Regions from separate parts of the Homo sapiens genome. Here all the other regions are linked to region 3. Evidence: promoter capture Hi-C in 16 types of primary human blood cells and fetal thymus (Javierre and others, 2016). All regions are on one chromosome and are shown on one strand. The core of a region is centred on a gene start or on the middle of the fragment in contact, and the rest is flanking DNA. Distances in the headings are between cores, read along the strand shown. Region 1 overlaps AJUBA (ajuba LIM protein). Region 2 holds the start of BCL2L2 (BCL2 like 2). Region 3 holds the start of CEBPE (CCAAT enhancer binding protein epsilon). Region 4 overlaps HOMEZ (homeobox and leucine zipper encoding). Region 5 has its middle 11 kb from the start of PABPN1.

Region 1 (2,700 bases), core at 188-2,687, 140 kb after region 3:
TGTTTACAGTGGCTTCCCTCTGCCTATGGGATCAAGTCTGGGCTCAAAAGCCTGTCAACCCAGGCTTCTATGACCTAGCCCCTCCCTAACTCTGCAGGCACAGCCAGGCCTTCCAGCCTGAGCTAGGAGTGTGGGGTCCTGAGTCTTTTTTTTTTTTTTTTTTTTGAGACAGAGTCTCGCTCTGACAAAGTGGAATGATCTCGGCTCACTGCAACCTCCGCCTCCCAGGTTCAAGTGATTCTAGTGCCTCAGCCTCCCAAGTAGCTAGGACTACAGGCATGCGCCACCATGCCTGGCTAATTTTTGTATGTTTAGTAGATAAAAGGTTTTGCCATGTTGGCCAGGCTGGTCTCGAATTCCTGGCCTCAAGTGATCCTCCTGCCTCAGCCTCCCAAAGTGCTAGATTATAGGCGTGAGCCACCATGCCCAGCCTGGGGTCCTGAGTCGTCTTCTTTTTTTTTTTTTTGAGATGGAGTCTCACTCTGTTGCCCAGGCTGGAGTCCAGTGGTGCGATCTCGGCTTACTGCAAGCTCCGCCTCCTGGTTCACGCCATTCTCCTGCCTAGCTGGGACTACAGGCGCCCGCCACATGCCCGGCTAATTTTTTGGTGTGTTTTTAGTAGAGACGGGGTTTCACTGTGTTAGCCAGTATGGTCTCGATCTCCTGACCTTGTGATCCGCCCACCTCGGCCTCCCAAAGTGCTGGGATTACAGGCGTAAGCCGCCGCGCCCGGCCAGTCCTGAGTCTTAATCCCCTTTCTGCTACTGGTTAGAATCACTTGGGACTCAGTTTTCTTTTCTGTAAAAACAAAAGATAGGATTAAATCAGTGATTCTCAATCATGGTAGCCTAGCAGATCAGCTGGGAAGAACTAAAAAACAAAACAAAACAAAAAACAGTGTTTGGATCCCATCACCACAGATTGTGATAATAGGCCTGGAGGAGGGCCAAAGCATTGATGTTTTTTAAAAGCTGCCTAGGTGATCCTGATATGCAGCCAGAGTGAAACACTGCTGGCCTGAATGCTCTCTCAGGCACTTTTCAGGGTCTCCGCCTCCATTTTACGACTTCTTCACCGACATTACATAGCATTGTTCTGGGAGTATAGCAGCGGGTTGGATGAGGTTAATGGGAGTAATAAGGAGCATAATGGGCAGCTGGAGAGCTGGGACTGGAGGGAGACTGATTCTCTTGCTACCCCATGAGCCAGATCCTACAAGCAATGGGGAAGTCCTATCATCCAGGCTGTTTCCGATGCATTGTTTGCAACAAGTGCCTGGATGGCATCCCCTTCACAGTGGACTTCTCCAACCAAGTATACTGTGTCACCGACTACCACAAGTGAGTCTGCCCCTTGGGATGCAGTGTGGAACTGGGTCCAGGGATTCCCCAGCCTCAGCTCATCTCTTCCCTCTCTCTTTCAGAAATTATGCTCCTAAGTGTGCAGCCTGTGGCCAACCCATCCTCCCCTCTGAGGTCAGTATGTCTGGGTTCTCCTTCAGGGCAGCCAGTGCCACTGCCTTTGGGGAGGGGATAGGGACATGCTGCCTGGCCTCCTGCCAGAAGTGGTAGTGCCAAGGAATGTACTCTGTGAAGATTCCCGTGTGACTCTGCCTCTTGGGGTCACCACCCTGACCCTAATATCCGGGCCTGGACATGTCTGAAAGCCTAACTGGGCCCAGGCTCCATCTCTTCTATCCCAGTCCAGAGGAGGAGACTTTCTTTGAGGTCGAGGTCACCAGACTGCAGATGTAGGGGCTGGAAAAAGGTGGGAAGAATCCTCAGCACTGGTAGGAAGGGGTCAGAAATGATTTAAGCTGAGTGTAGGGGATGTGCCTATGGAGAGAAACCAAAAGCCAGTGAGGACCAGATCTTATTGGATCCCCTTGTTCCCAGCCTAGCCTACTTTATTTAGGCCTCCTGTCCCCTTCCCTTCCCTTTGCTTCCTGCACAACTGAGAGACGCAGGTAAGGCCAGGGCTGTTGTACAGAGGGAGTGTGCTCCATGGGTGCAGCCCAGTGAAGGAGATGAGAGTTCTGGTAGGATTTGCAGAAGCATCTTAAAACTACAGGTGATTGCAGAGAGACTCTGGGGGCATTTGTATGATCTTCCCATGGGGTGGGAAGGGTTGTATATGAGGGAAAGGTGGAGGTGAGGCAACATGCTGCTCTCATCTCCATGGGGGTCTGCATGTTTCAGGGCTGTGAGGACATCGTGAGGGTGATATCCATGGACCGGGATTATCACTTTGAGTGCTACCACTGTGAGGTGAGTGTTGGGGTTCAGCGGTGCTGGAGAAGAAGTGGAAATGGGGAGAGGGGAGGAGTCAAGTCCTGCAACAACCAGACATCTATGGGAGAGGTGTAGGGCATGGGAAACCAGAAAGATATTGTGACCTATCTTCAGTCTCTTTTTTGTCCTCCAGCCACTCTCTCTGGTCCAAGTAGCTTAGTCCTTTCTGAATCTGACTCTCCCAGAGTCAGGACTTTCTAAGACTAGGGACTCTGGTCAAACTTCTTGAAAGACAGGCTTGTGTCATTATTTCTGCTGCAGCAGTGACACCTGGTGTCCAGCTGAGGTATTAGTATTTTCTCAGATTGCTCTTCCATCCCTTCCATCCTTCCCTTCCCACCCCATCCCTTTCTTCCAGTTATTAGGAGTCAGGTGTTGAGCAGGGCAGACTCCTAAGATACCCTCAGTG
Region 2 (2,700 bases), core at 36-2,535, 190 kb before region 3:
GGTTCCATCTCCTTGTTGACACTCTCAGCACACAGTGCAGCCCCAAAGACAAAGAAGGCTACAAGGCGGCCCCAGTTGGGGCCCCCTTGAAAAAGTTCATCGGAGACCTGGGTGAAGCGTTGTTGGGCTGAGCCTGGGGTCACATGCAGCTGAGCCGCCAGATCAGAGAAGGTGCGCCGGAAGCGGGTCTCGAACTCATCTCCAGCTGCCCGCATGGCTTGGTGCAGCGGGTCAGCTGCTGGGCCCTCCCCGGGGCCAGCTCCACAGACATAACCCTTCTGCCTCAGCTTATAACCTACAAAGTCTGCCACCAGAGCCCGTGTGTCTGGGGCCGAGGCTGGGGTCGCCATCCGGGCGGCTATAAGAGGCAAGGATGAAAGACTGGCATGAATATATGAAGAGAGAATCAGAAGGAGCACTTCTGGTTTGACCAACCCAGTGAGATGAGGAGGAGAGAGGAAATGCTCAGGACTCACTGGACAGGGAGAGGCAAGAACAAGGGAATTAAGTCATGATATGAGACTAGGCTGTGAGTGGCTGGCCATTACATTCCTAATATGCCAAATTAAATGTAAAACAAGTAAATTTTCTGTTTAGGATACTTTAGATTCTTTTCACAATAAGACAACGTCAGCTCAATGACACCCCTACAACACCCCCACCCCCGGGTCTCCTTAGTCCACACCTTCTTGGCTAGAGGAAGGGTCTTAGGACCTCCCCAAATGCAAGATGTAAAGATGTTGGCAGAGACACAAGATGAGGGGGAGCAGATGGGCTGAAGAGAAAGGTGGGAGACGCAATGGGTTACTCCAGACAGAGAAAGGAAGGAGACACTCACCCAGCCGGGATGGCAGCTCTTAAGACACAGCACTGGTGGCAAGGAGCCCCCAGCTGGGGCCTTTCATCCTCCTGGCCAGCGTGGAGCCCTGGAAAGGGGAGGGGGAGATCAGAACCAGGAGGGGAAGGCCAGGGATCAGGTTCTGGCCTGGGAAGGGCTAGGGTTGCAGCTCTGGGCCTAGGCCCCTGCCCCCAACGCTCTACCAGCTGTGTGGCCGAATCCATGTTTAATGACTGTCCTCCCGGGAAACCCAAGGCCAAGGGCTTCCTGCCGACACCATCTCTATTCCCGGTTCCCCCTAGTGCAGCCCAAAGGCCCAGCTCCTCCCTTACCCCCACCTCAGCCAGTCTCCAACCCCGCCCGCCTGCCAGGTTAGGGATCTCACGGGTCAGGCCGCTGCCGGGATCCGGGCCGTTTCCTGGTGCAGGAGCTGGGAGGGAGGGAGAGAGGGAGGAAGGGAGGGAAGGAAGGAGGGAGGAGAAAGGGGGGGGCAGAGGGAGGGCCCGGCGCCGGGTGATGATGGGGCCCAGAGATGCGTCCAGAGAGAGGGGCGGGGCTGGGACGCAGGCCTGCAAAGGGCCACTACTCAGGAAGAGGGAGGGCTGCTGAAGGCAAAGAAGGGCTGGCTGAGAGGGCACGGTGGGCTGGGCTGGGCTGGGCTCCTGAGCCTCTAGGCTGCCCAGAGAAATATGCCGGACTTCGGGACATCTCGGGGCAAATTTAGCATTTTCAGGAGGTTTCCGATGTTCCATGCACTTGTTGAACTTTTCCAGCCCTGAACTGTGTGCCTGGAAAACAGGAGCAGTTCCCATTAAGCTGGGAACCGTCTACCAGGTGCCTTACCCTTATGGGGCTAGCAGACACCACATAGACACCAAACCTTTCCCATCTTTTCTCCAGGACCTTTAACCCAGTGTTCTCTTTGTGGGCTGGGCTTCAGCCAGGCATTAGGGAGCCAGGACTTGGATCACAAGCAGTTTCTCTCGGTACTTTTCTTTAATTCATCTTCTTTTGTAATTAGATTGATTTTAGTGGGGTTTTTTTCTTTTTCTTTTTTTTACCCAACACACAAACTCATTCTCATTATGAAAAAAATCAAACAATAAAGACGTGCGGAGTAATAAAATACAGGTTCTCAAACACACACACACATACACACCCAATTCCACTTCCCTCCCTGCAGGTTGCCAGTGTTAAGCTTGATGTTTATCCTTCCAGATTACATATATATGGGGCCATTATTTATACATGGCAGTATATTTATACAGGGCAGGTCACAGGCGTGAAGCAGTCTGACCATAGCTGATCCACATGAGGGCACTCACAGCCAGCCCCCTGGGCTCTTGGATCTGGCACTTTTTTAAAGAGTGCCCCAACCAAAGGCCAGAAAGAGGCAACCTAATTCTCCTATTCTGCTAGCTCCCTTTGCTTCTACCTCCAATCCAAGCCTCTGTATTACCATCTTCCCTTATGGTCACTGGAGAAGCAAGGTCTTTTCTGCAGCAATAACAGTAACAACTAGCTGGGTTCGGTGGCTCATACCTGTAATCCCAACACTTTGGGAGGCCAAGGCGGGTGGATCACTTGAGGCCAGGAGTTCGAGACCAGCCTGACCAACATGGCAAAACCCCATCTCTACTAAAAATACAAAAATTAGCCAGACGTAAAATACAAAAATTAGCCAGCCTGTAATCCCAGCTGCTCAGGAGGCTGAGGCATGAGAATCACTTGAACCCAGGAGGCTGAGATCATGCCACTGCACTCCAGACTGGGTGATAGAACGAGACTCTATCTCAAAAAAAAAAAAAGGTAAAAACTAACATATTTTGAGGAGTTATTAGATGCTGTGCTTTTTTTACATG
Region 3 (2,700 bases), core at 1-2,500:
ACCTACAATCCCTTTTGGAGATGAAATTCAACAGGTAAAAGCAGTACCAGAGCAGGTGTCTCTGAAAGGAGGTAGTGGGGAGTTCCCAAAGGAAAGAGAAAAGGGAAGAGGAGAGCCAGCACAGAACAAAGAATTGCAGAGAGGGAGCCATGGGCTTCTCCTGGAGACCCTAAAACAGAGCCCCAGGAAGAGGTGATGACATAAGAGGCTTCTCAAACCTCACAAGAGGAAGTAGACCCAAGAGACACGCATTGGAGATCAGAGAGCGGCCATGCAAAAGGAAAGACAGCAAACGAGCTGCAGCAAGCTCCTAAGCCCTGCAGCCCAGGCACAGGAAACCAGAGGCAGAGCCTCAGGCCCAGGGTGAGGGGCGAAGCACCAGCCTGAGCCTCTTGCAGCACAGAGCAGCTGGAAGAGAGAAGTGCTGGAGCCACCGGAGGATTATGGCTGTCTACTCCGAGGGCAGCAACCTGCCTAGGCCTGCGGTGCAAGGCCCAAGTCCTGACCAGGTGCTTTGGCCAAGCCCAGGGAGTTAGGAAGTGTACCAGGCTGCTAGAGGTAGCTAGGGCTGGAAACGCACTAACATGTGGGCTATTGCACAGCTCCTGTGCAAAAACCTAGCAAATGAGCATGCTCTGGAGCACCACGCAGGCTCGCGTGTAGAGCTTGTTCCTAGGACCTATCACTACTCCCTAGACCCCTCAAAAAACAAACCCTGGCCTACACTCAGAGAATGCTCTGGGAGGTGGGGCTACAAAAGAAACTTTCTCTTGGGGGTAGGTGGAGCCCAGCAGCAGGGGAGAGCCAGAGGAAGGCGTGTCAAGGGAGGAGGTGAGACCCAACTGAGGGTAGGCACTGGAAGAGGGCTTTCTCTCTTCACTCTAACTTGGAACCTCATTCTGCATAGAACTTTTTCAAAGTCGGAGGGAGGAGGTTGCTCAGAGTGGGGTGTTGCCCTCTGCGAGGATTTGGAGTCCCCTGGCCTCCCAGCAGGGAGTGGAGAGGCATTCCCAGAAGCATCAGCTTCGGGCATCTCCAGAACCCTGGCTTGGTCCCTGACCAAGGAGTGTCCCCAACTGCTGAATAGGCCAGGAGTCGCCTTTCTCTAAGGCTTACATCTCTCCCTCTGGGGTGTGTCCTGCCCCTCCCTGAGTCACCCCAAGGGGAGAGAGGGGAAAAAAGGGAAGAGAAGAGAGGCATTGACTACAGAGGAAGGAAAAGGAAGCAGAGCAGAGGGGGGAGAGAGGCCACACAGGAGTGGGTGACAGAGGAGACTGCAGAGGGCAGGTCTAGGGCAGAAGATCGAGAGAGGGCAGGCCCAGGTCAGGAGGAGGTAGAGAGAGGGCAGCCGGAGCACCCCAAGGGGTGCCTCAAGAGCAGGTGGGGGCGGGGAGCCGAGGGGGCGGGCCGGCCATGTCCCACGGGACCTACTACGAGTGTGAGCCCCGGGGTGGCCAGCAGCCACTCGAGTTCTCAGGGGGCCGAGCTGGGCCCGGGGAGCTAGGGGACATGTGTGAGCATGAGGCCTCCATTGACCTCTCCGCCTACATCGAGTCTGGGGAAGAGCAGCTTCTCTCCGATCTCTTTGCCGTGAAGCCAGCGCCTGAGGCCAGAGGCCTCAAGGGCCCCGGAACCCCTGCCTTCCCCCACTACTTGCCGCCTGACCCTCGGCCCTTTGCCTACCCTCCACATACCTTCGGCCCAGACAGGAAGGCGCTGGGGCCTGGCATCTACAGCAGCCCAGGGAGCTACGACCCCAGGGCTGTGGCGGTGAAGGAGGAGCCCCGGGGGCCAGAGGGCAGCCGAGCTGCCAGCCGAGGCAGCTACAATCCCCTGCAGTACCAAGTGGCACACTGTGGGCAGACAGCCATGCACCTGCCCCCAACTCTGGCAGCACCCGGCCAGCCTCTGCGCGTTCTCAAGGTAAGAGCAGGCCAGCCCTCCTCCCTCCTGCCCGGGGCTGGAGAGGCTGGTGTGGACAGGACCCTGTGCCCCGGCTCATGCTGCTGAGCCTGTGCTTGGTGTCGCTCTGTGAAATGGACCCAACCCACAGTCCTCTGTGTTCACACCCCACCATGACCTCCCTTTCCTTCTCTGTGAATTCATTCCCACCCTGAATCCCCACCCAAAGCCCCTGTGGCAAGCTGACCTACTTGATCTCAGGCCCCCACCGCCAGCCTCTCTGCTGCTCACCATGCCCCCTCCTCTTGTTTCTCTGCCGCCTGCTTCTGTGAGAAATGTCTACTGGTCATAGAACGGGAGACTCAAGGCAGATTGAGGGAAAGTGTACTCAGAAAGTGTGAGAGCATTGGCTGGGTGTCGTGGCTCATGCCTGTAATCCCAGCGCTTTGGGAGGCCAAAGCAGGAGGTTCGCTTAAGGCCAGGGGTTGGAGACCAGCCTGGACAACATAGCAAGGCTCCATCTTTACAAAAAAAGAAAGAAAGAAAGTGTGAGAACATGAAAGGGAGTTTTGGTCTCAAGCAGAGGACCCTGTGCATCTGGGTCACCATCTCCCAGAAGCAGAGCGATGATAGTTTTGACCTGAGAGACAGGAGCTGGCTCTGAGTCCTGTATTCCTTTGACGCATCAAGTGTGCCCTGGCTGCCGAGATTCCCGCCCCGCCTCCGCTCTGCCTCCTGGCCAGCCCTCACCTCTCCGTCTCTCCGTGCCTTCCCCTCCAGGCCCCTTTGGCCACTGCC
Region 4 (2,700 bases), core at 138-2,637, 160 kb before region 3:
TCCATCCCCTAACATTTGCTCTATGCCCTGCCTATGCATAACACCTAGCACGTAGTACTCTTACGTACTCTCTGCACTGTCTTCACTTTGTTACATAGGAGGAAACCAGGCTCATGTAAGTTAAGTAACTTGCCTGAGATCACATAGCTGATAAGTGGCAGAACCGGGATTCAAACTCAGAGGTTGGCCTTATTGAAGAATTCATATTTCTACCCGTCATGCCATGCTGCCTCCATTGACCCTCTTAAGGGGCTCTTCAAGCAGTATTGCTTTCAGGGTCTGCGTGGCCTCAGTTAGTTAGATTTGCTTGTTAAAAGGAAATGGTGACACGTATTAAAATGCTTCTGAATTTTAAAAATCATGGTGTAAAATCCCTGCGATCACATTGCTCTAAATGTATGGACTTGAGGTTTATTTTTGCAATTCATCGTGTAGCATTTACATAGGAATCCTGTCCTGTCCTTAGCAGATCAGGAGTAATACTTAAAAACACAGATAGAAGGCTGGGCCCGGTGTTTCACGCCTGAAATCCCAGCACTTTGGGAGGCTGAGGCAGGCAGATGACGAGGTCAGGAGATCAAGACCATCCTGGCCAACATGGTGAAATCCTGTCTCTACTAAAATACAAAAAAGCCAGGTGTGGTGGCGTGCGCCTGTAGTCCTAGCTACTCAGGAGGCTGAGGCAAGGGAATCACTTGAACCCAGGAGGCGGAGGTTGCAGTGAGCCAAGATCGTGCCACTGCACTCCAGCCTGGCGACAGAGCAAGACTCCGTCTCCAAATAAAATAAAATAAAATAAAATAAAATAAAATAAAATAAAATAAAATAATAAAATAAAATAAAATAAAATAAAATAAAAATAAAAATATAAAAATAAAAATAAAATATAACAGATGTGATTCCCCTAAGAGTAAAGGGTGATGGATGTGTTAAAGGGTCTCTAGTGCCCACACAGGGAGCTGAGTTAAAAATTGTCAACAGAATATTCTGGGAAATAACTTGAGCAGTTATTTCAGGAAAGCAGCACAGTCAAAGGCTATTCCTGCAGTCCCCATACCCATAATCCTGGGAGCAGTGGTGCTGCTGGGTAGCTTGCAGGAGCTGGTTACAATTTATAATGAGCCTGTCCACCTGGTCTTGAGGAGAAAGCTGGGCTGAAAAGTTAAGCTCAGGAGACCTTCTGCCCTGTGTGGAGGGGGCTGTTAGTGACTGAGGGAGCTTTCTGGGCTCCCTGGGGAGAAGCTGAGCTGTTGGAAGAGACAAAGGCTGGGGGAGGGGATAACCTTTGTTCCAAGGCTGACTTGGAGGAGGAAACATTCCCCTCTCTATTTTCACATGACCTAAAGGGTTAGGGGAGTGAGCCTCATTTATCCCCAATCTCTGACCCATGTCTCTCATCCAACCAAGAGATGGAAAAAATAAAGCTATCAGGTTTGGGCTTAGGGCTTAAAGGTACTGTCAGTCGCCTTCCCCCAACACTCCACCACCAAGAAGGGAAAGAAAAAAGGGGGGCTGGGCAGAGGACAGTGCTGTCCTACCTTCCAGATATTCATCAGTTGTATTCCCAATCTGTTGATCCACATTCTAAATATAAATTGTTAGCAGCCAAAGAGTTAGTAACAAGCCAGGAACAATGTTGTGCACCTGTAGTTCTAACTACTCAGGAGGTTGAGGCAGGAGGGTCACTTGATCCCAGGAATTCGAGGCTGTAGTGCATTATGATTGCACCTATGCATAGCACGCCAGCCTGGGCAACATAACGAGAACTTGTCTCTAAAAAAAAATAGTGGCCAGGCGCGGTGGCTCATGCCTGTAATCCCAGCACTTTGGGAGGCCAAGGCAGGTGGATCACCTGAGGTCAGGAGTTCGAGACCAGCCTGGCCAACATAGCATTAGATATGAGTTCTAAATTTCTCTTCAAAGAATCAATATGTCAGTATGTTCAATTCTTTGCCTTCTACTTTTAAACTTAACTTCCTTGTAAAGCAACCTTTTTCGATCACCTGCTCCACCCTGACTCATTCCGATTACCTGCTCTGCCCTGACTCATTCTCCACCCTGACTCCTTCCGATTTCCTGCTCTGCCATAACCATTTTCCCCACCAAACCACTCACCCGGTCACTCTCTTTAAATTAGCCAATCGGAATTAGTTTAGCCTGTGCGGTCTAACCCTAGCCAATATGGGAATGACAGCGGCAGGGGCCACCTGTGTCAGGAATAAGAACTTCTTCCCCTCTTTTGTCCAGGTGTGTGCTCACCACTGCTCCATCTATGAGGGCGCACCCTTCTATAGAAGTAAATTGCCCTACTGAGAAGAAAAAAAAAAGAAAATTTTATATTCGATTGCTATTTCTTTTGTGGCACCGAAACTTTATTTATAACAATAGTGAAACTTCGTCTCTACTAAAAGTACAAAAATTAGCTGGGCATCATGGTGCACGCTTGTAATTCCAGCTACTCAGGAGGCTGAGGCAGGAGAATCACTTGAACCCGGGAGGTGGAGGTTGCAGTGAGCCAAGATCACGCCACTGCACTCCAGCCTGGGTGACAGAAAGACTCTGTCTCAAAAAAAAAAATAGTTATTAACAATTCTGGCCAGGCGCCGTGGCTCACGCCTGTAATCCCAGCACTTTGGGAGGCCGAGGCCGGTGGATCACTTGAGGTCAGGAGTTCGGGACCAGCCTGGTTAACATGGTAAA
Region 5 (2,700 bases), core at 9-2,508, 210 kb before region 3:
AAAAGACCCAGACTAGCTGAATAATCTTGAAAAAGAGCAAAATTGGCGGACTCACACTCCTAAAATTTCAAAATTTATTACAAAGCTACAGTAATATAGACAGTGTGGTACTGCCATAAGGACAAACACGAAAATCAATGGAACAGAATTGAGAGTCCAGAGACTGGTCAATTGATTTACAAAACAGGGACCAAGACAATTTAATGGGAAAAGAAGTCTTTTTAACAAATGATACTGGGACAACTGGATATCCACATGCAAAAGAAGAGAACTGGACCCCTGTCTTATACCATAAACAAAAATAAATTCAAGGGCGGGATGTCTGTAATCCAGCACTTCAGGAGGCTGAAGCGGGCAGATCACTTGCGGTCAGGAGTTCGAGACCAGCCTGGCCAACATGGTAAAACCCTGTCCCTACTAAAAATACAAAAATTAGCTGGGCGTGGTGGCAGGCACCTGTAATCCCAGCTACTCAGGAGGCTGAGGCATGAGAATTGCTTGAATCCAGTGGGCAGAGGTTGCAGTGAGCCGAGATAGCACCACTGCACTCCAGCCTGGGTGACAGAGTGAGACTCTGTCTCAATAAATAAATAAATATTTTTAAAAAAAACTCAAAATGGATCAAAGACCTAAACATAAGAGCTAAAACTATAACACTCTCAGTAGAAAATATAGACACATCTTCATGACTTTTGTGCTTCAAAAGATGCTGTCAAGAAAGCAAAGAACTGGGCCGGGCGCGGTGGCTCACGCCTGTAATCCCAGCACTTTGGGAGGCCGAGGCGGGCAGATCACGAGGTCAGGAGATCGAAACCATCCTGGCTAACACGGTGAAACCCCGTCTCTACTAAAAATACAAAAAATTAGCCAGGCAAGGTGGCGGGCGCCTGTAGTCCCAGCTACTCGGGAGGCTGAGGCAGGAGAATGGCGTGAACCCTGGGGGGCAGAGCTTGCAGGGAGCCGAGATCGCGCCACTGCACTTCAGCCTGGGCAACAGCGAGACTCCATCTCAAAAAAAAAAAAAGCAAGCAAAGAACCCACAAAATGGAAGAAAATATTTGCAAATCATATATCTGATAAGTCTAGTCTTCAGTATTCAGTATTCAGCAAAGGAAGGCTGGGCATGCTGATGCATACCTGTAGTCCCAGCTGTTGGGGAGGCTGAGGCAGAGGGTTTGCCTAATGCCAGGAGTTCAAGTCTGAAGTGCACTATGGCATGCACTGGAGTACCATGCCTGTGTACGCTAGCCTGAGCAACATAGCAACACCTCATCTCTAAAAATAAAAAAAAAAAAATTTTTTAAATTAAAAAGAAGTCTTGCAAGAAAACAATCTACTTTAAAAATGAGGACCAGGCTTGGTGGCTCATCCCCGTAACCCCAGCACTTTGGGAGGCTGAGGCGGGCAGATTGCTTGAGACAGGAGTTCAAGAGCAGCCTGGGCAACATGGCGAAACCCCATTTCTAGAAAAATTAAAAACTAGGCGGGCGTGGTGGCACGCACCTGTAGTCCCAGCTACTCAAGAGGCTGAGGTAGGAAGATCACCTAAGCCTGGGGAGGTTGAGGCTGTGAATAGCCGTGATTGGGCCACCGCACTCCACCCTGAGGGACAGAGTGAGACCCAGTCTCAAAAAAGAAAAAAGGCAAAGAATCTGAATATATATATATACACACACACACATACATACAAATGGCAAATAAGCACATGAAAAGATGCTAAACATCTTTGAGTCATCAGACAAATGCAAATTAAAACTACGATGAGATACCTCTTCATACCCTCTAGGATGGCTATAGCCAAAGAGATTGACAATAACAAGTTTGGTGCGGATGTAAAGAGACCAGAAGCCTCATACATTGCTGGTGAAAATGTAAAATGATGCAGCTGCTTTGGAAAACAGTCTGGCAGTTCCTCAAAAGGTTAAAGATAGTTACCATGGGTCTTAGTCCATTCATCTGGGCTGCTGTAACAAAATAAGGTAGACTGGGTGGCTTACAAGCAACAGAAGTTTATTTGTTGCAGTTCTGGGGACTGGGAAGCCCAATATCAAGGTTCTGGCAGATTTAATATCTGGTGAGATCCCATTTCCTGGTTCATAGATGGTACCTTCTCACTGTATCCTCACGTGATGTAAAAGGGCAAGGTAGCTCTTGGGGCTTCTCCTATGAACTAATGACCTCCCATAAGTCCCGAACTGCTAATATCATCACTTTGGGGGTTAGGATTTCAGCATATGGATTGTGGTGGAGGTGCAAACACTCAAACCATAGCACAGTATGACCCAGCAACTCCATTCTTAAGTATATACCCAAGAGAAATGAAAACATATGTTCATACAAAAACTTATACAGTTGTTTGGAGCCAGACTATTTGTAATAGCCAAAAAAATAGAAACAACCCAAATGTCCATCAGTTGATGATGGAAACAAAATGTGTTATATCCAATGAAATACTAGTCAGCCATAAAAAGGAATACTGGGCCAGGCATGGTGGCTTATGCCTGTAATCCAAGCACTTTGTGAGGCTGAGGTGGGAGGATCACTTGAGCCCAGGAGTTTGAGGCCAGCTTGGGCAACATAGCAAGATCTCATCTTTACAAAAAATAAAATATAATAAAATTCTGGCCCTGCGCGATGGCTCATGCCTGTAATCCCAGCACTTTGGGAGGCTGAGGCGGGCGGATCATGAGGTCAGGAGTT

What was found. The method cuts DNA at HindIII sites, captures the fragments that hold promoters and counts their contacts. A CHiCAGO score of 5 or more calls a contact.
Region 1: a fragment that was not itself captured here is called in contact with the fragment with the promoter of CEBPE in region 3 in 1 of 17 cell types (M0 macrophages); the score reaches 5.1 in M0 macrophages.
Region 2: the fragment with the promoter of BCL2L2 here is called in contact with the fragment with the promoter of CEBPE in region 3 in 2 of 17 cell types (neutrophils and M2 macrophages); the score reaches 8.3 in neutrophils.
Region 4: a fragment that was not itself captured here is called in contact with the fragment with the promoter of CEBPE in region 3 in 1 of 17 cell types (neutrophils); the score reaches 5.0 in neutrophils.
Region 5: a contact is called between a fragment that was not itself captured here and the fragment with the promoter of CEBPE in region 3, in 1 of 17 cell types (neutrophils). The highest score is 5.1, in neutrophils.

Annotation. Positions count from the first base shown.
Region 1 is chr14:22,973,614-22,976,313 of GRCh38, reverse strand. AJUBA (ajuba LIM protein) reads left to right here. Exons shown (of 8, transcript NM_032876.6): 5 at 1,210-1,340; 6 at 1,424-1,475; 7 at 2,199-2,267. Among named protein-coding and RNA genes, the nearest start is that of AJUBA, 7.6 kb to the left of the region's middle. RefSeq lists an enhancer at 916-1,416. The HindIII fragment of the contact is 4,841 bases long and covers 1-2,700 here.
Region 2 is chr14:23,305,418-23,308,117 of GRCh38, reverse strand. It overlaps BCL2L2 (BCL2 like 2), which reads right to left and starts at 1,285. Exons shown (of 4, transcript NM_004050.5): 1 at 1,224-1,285; 2 at 839-926; 3 at 1-358. The coding sequence starts at 350. It overlaps BCL2L2-PABPN1 (BCL2L2-PABPN1 readthrough), which reads right to left and starts at 1,285. Exons shown (of 8, transcript NM_001387346.1): 1 at 1,224-1,285; 2 at 839-926; 3 at 1-358. The coding sequence starts at 350. RefSeq lists an enhancer at 1-426. The HindIII fragment of the contact is 2,126 bases long and covers 1-2,038 here.
Region 3 is chr14:23,117,805-23,120,504 of GRCh38, reverse strand. It overlaps CEBPE (CCAAT enhancer binding protein epsilon), which reads left to right and starts at 1,250. Exons shown (of 2, transcript NM_001805.4): 1 at 1,250-1,923; 2 at 2,683-2,700. The coding sequence starts at 1,414. RefSeq lists enhancers at 1-451, 532-611. The HindIII fragment of the contact is 9,723 bases long and covers 1-2,700 here.
Region 4 is chr14:23,278,870-23,281,569 of GRCh38, reverse strand. All of the region lies in intron 1 of HOMEZ (homeobox and leucine zipper encoding), which reads left to right. Among named protein-coding and RNA genes, the nearest start is that of HOMEZ, 5.9 kb to the left of the region's middle. RefSeq lists enhancers at 838-1,338, 1,339-1,839. The HindIII fragment of the contact is 9,442 bases long and covers 1-2,700 here.
Region 5 is chr14:23,330,925-23,333,624 of GRCh38, reverse strand. No RefSeq gene overlaps it. Among named protein-coding and RNA genes, the nearest start is that of PABPN1, 11 kb to the right of the region's middle. The HindIII fragment of the contact is 4,981 bases long and covers 1-2,700 here.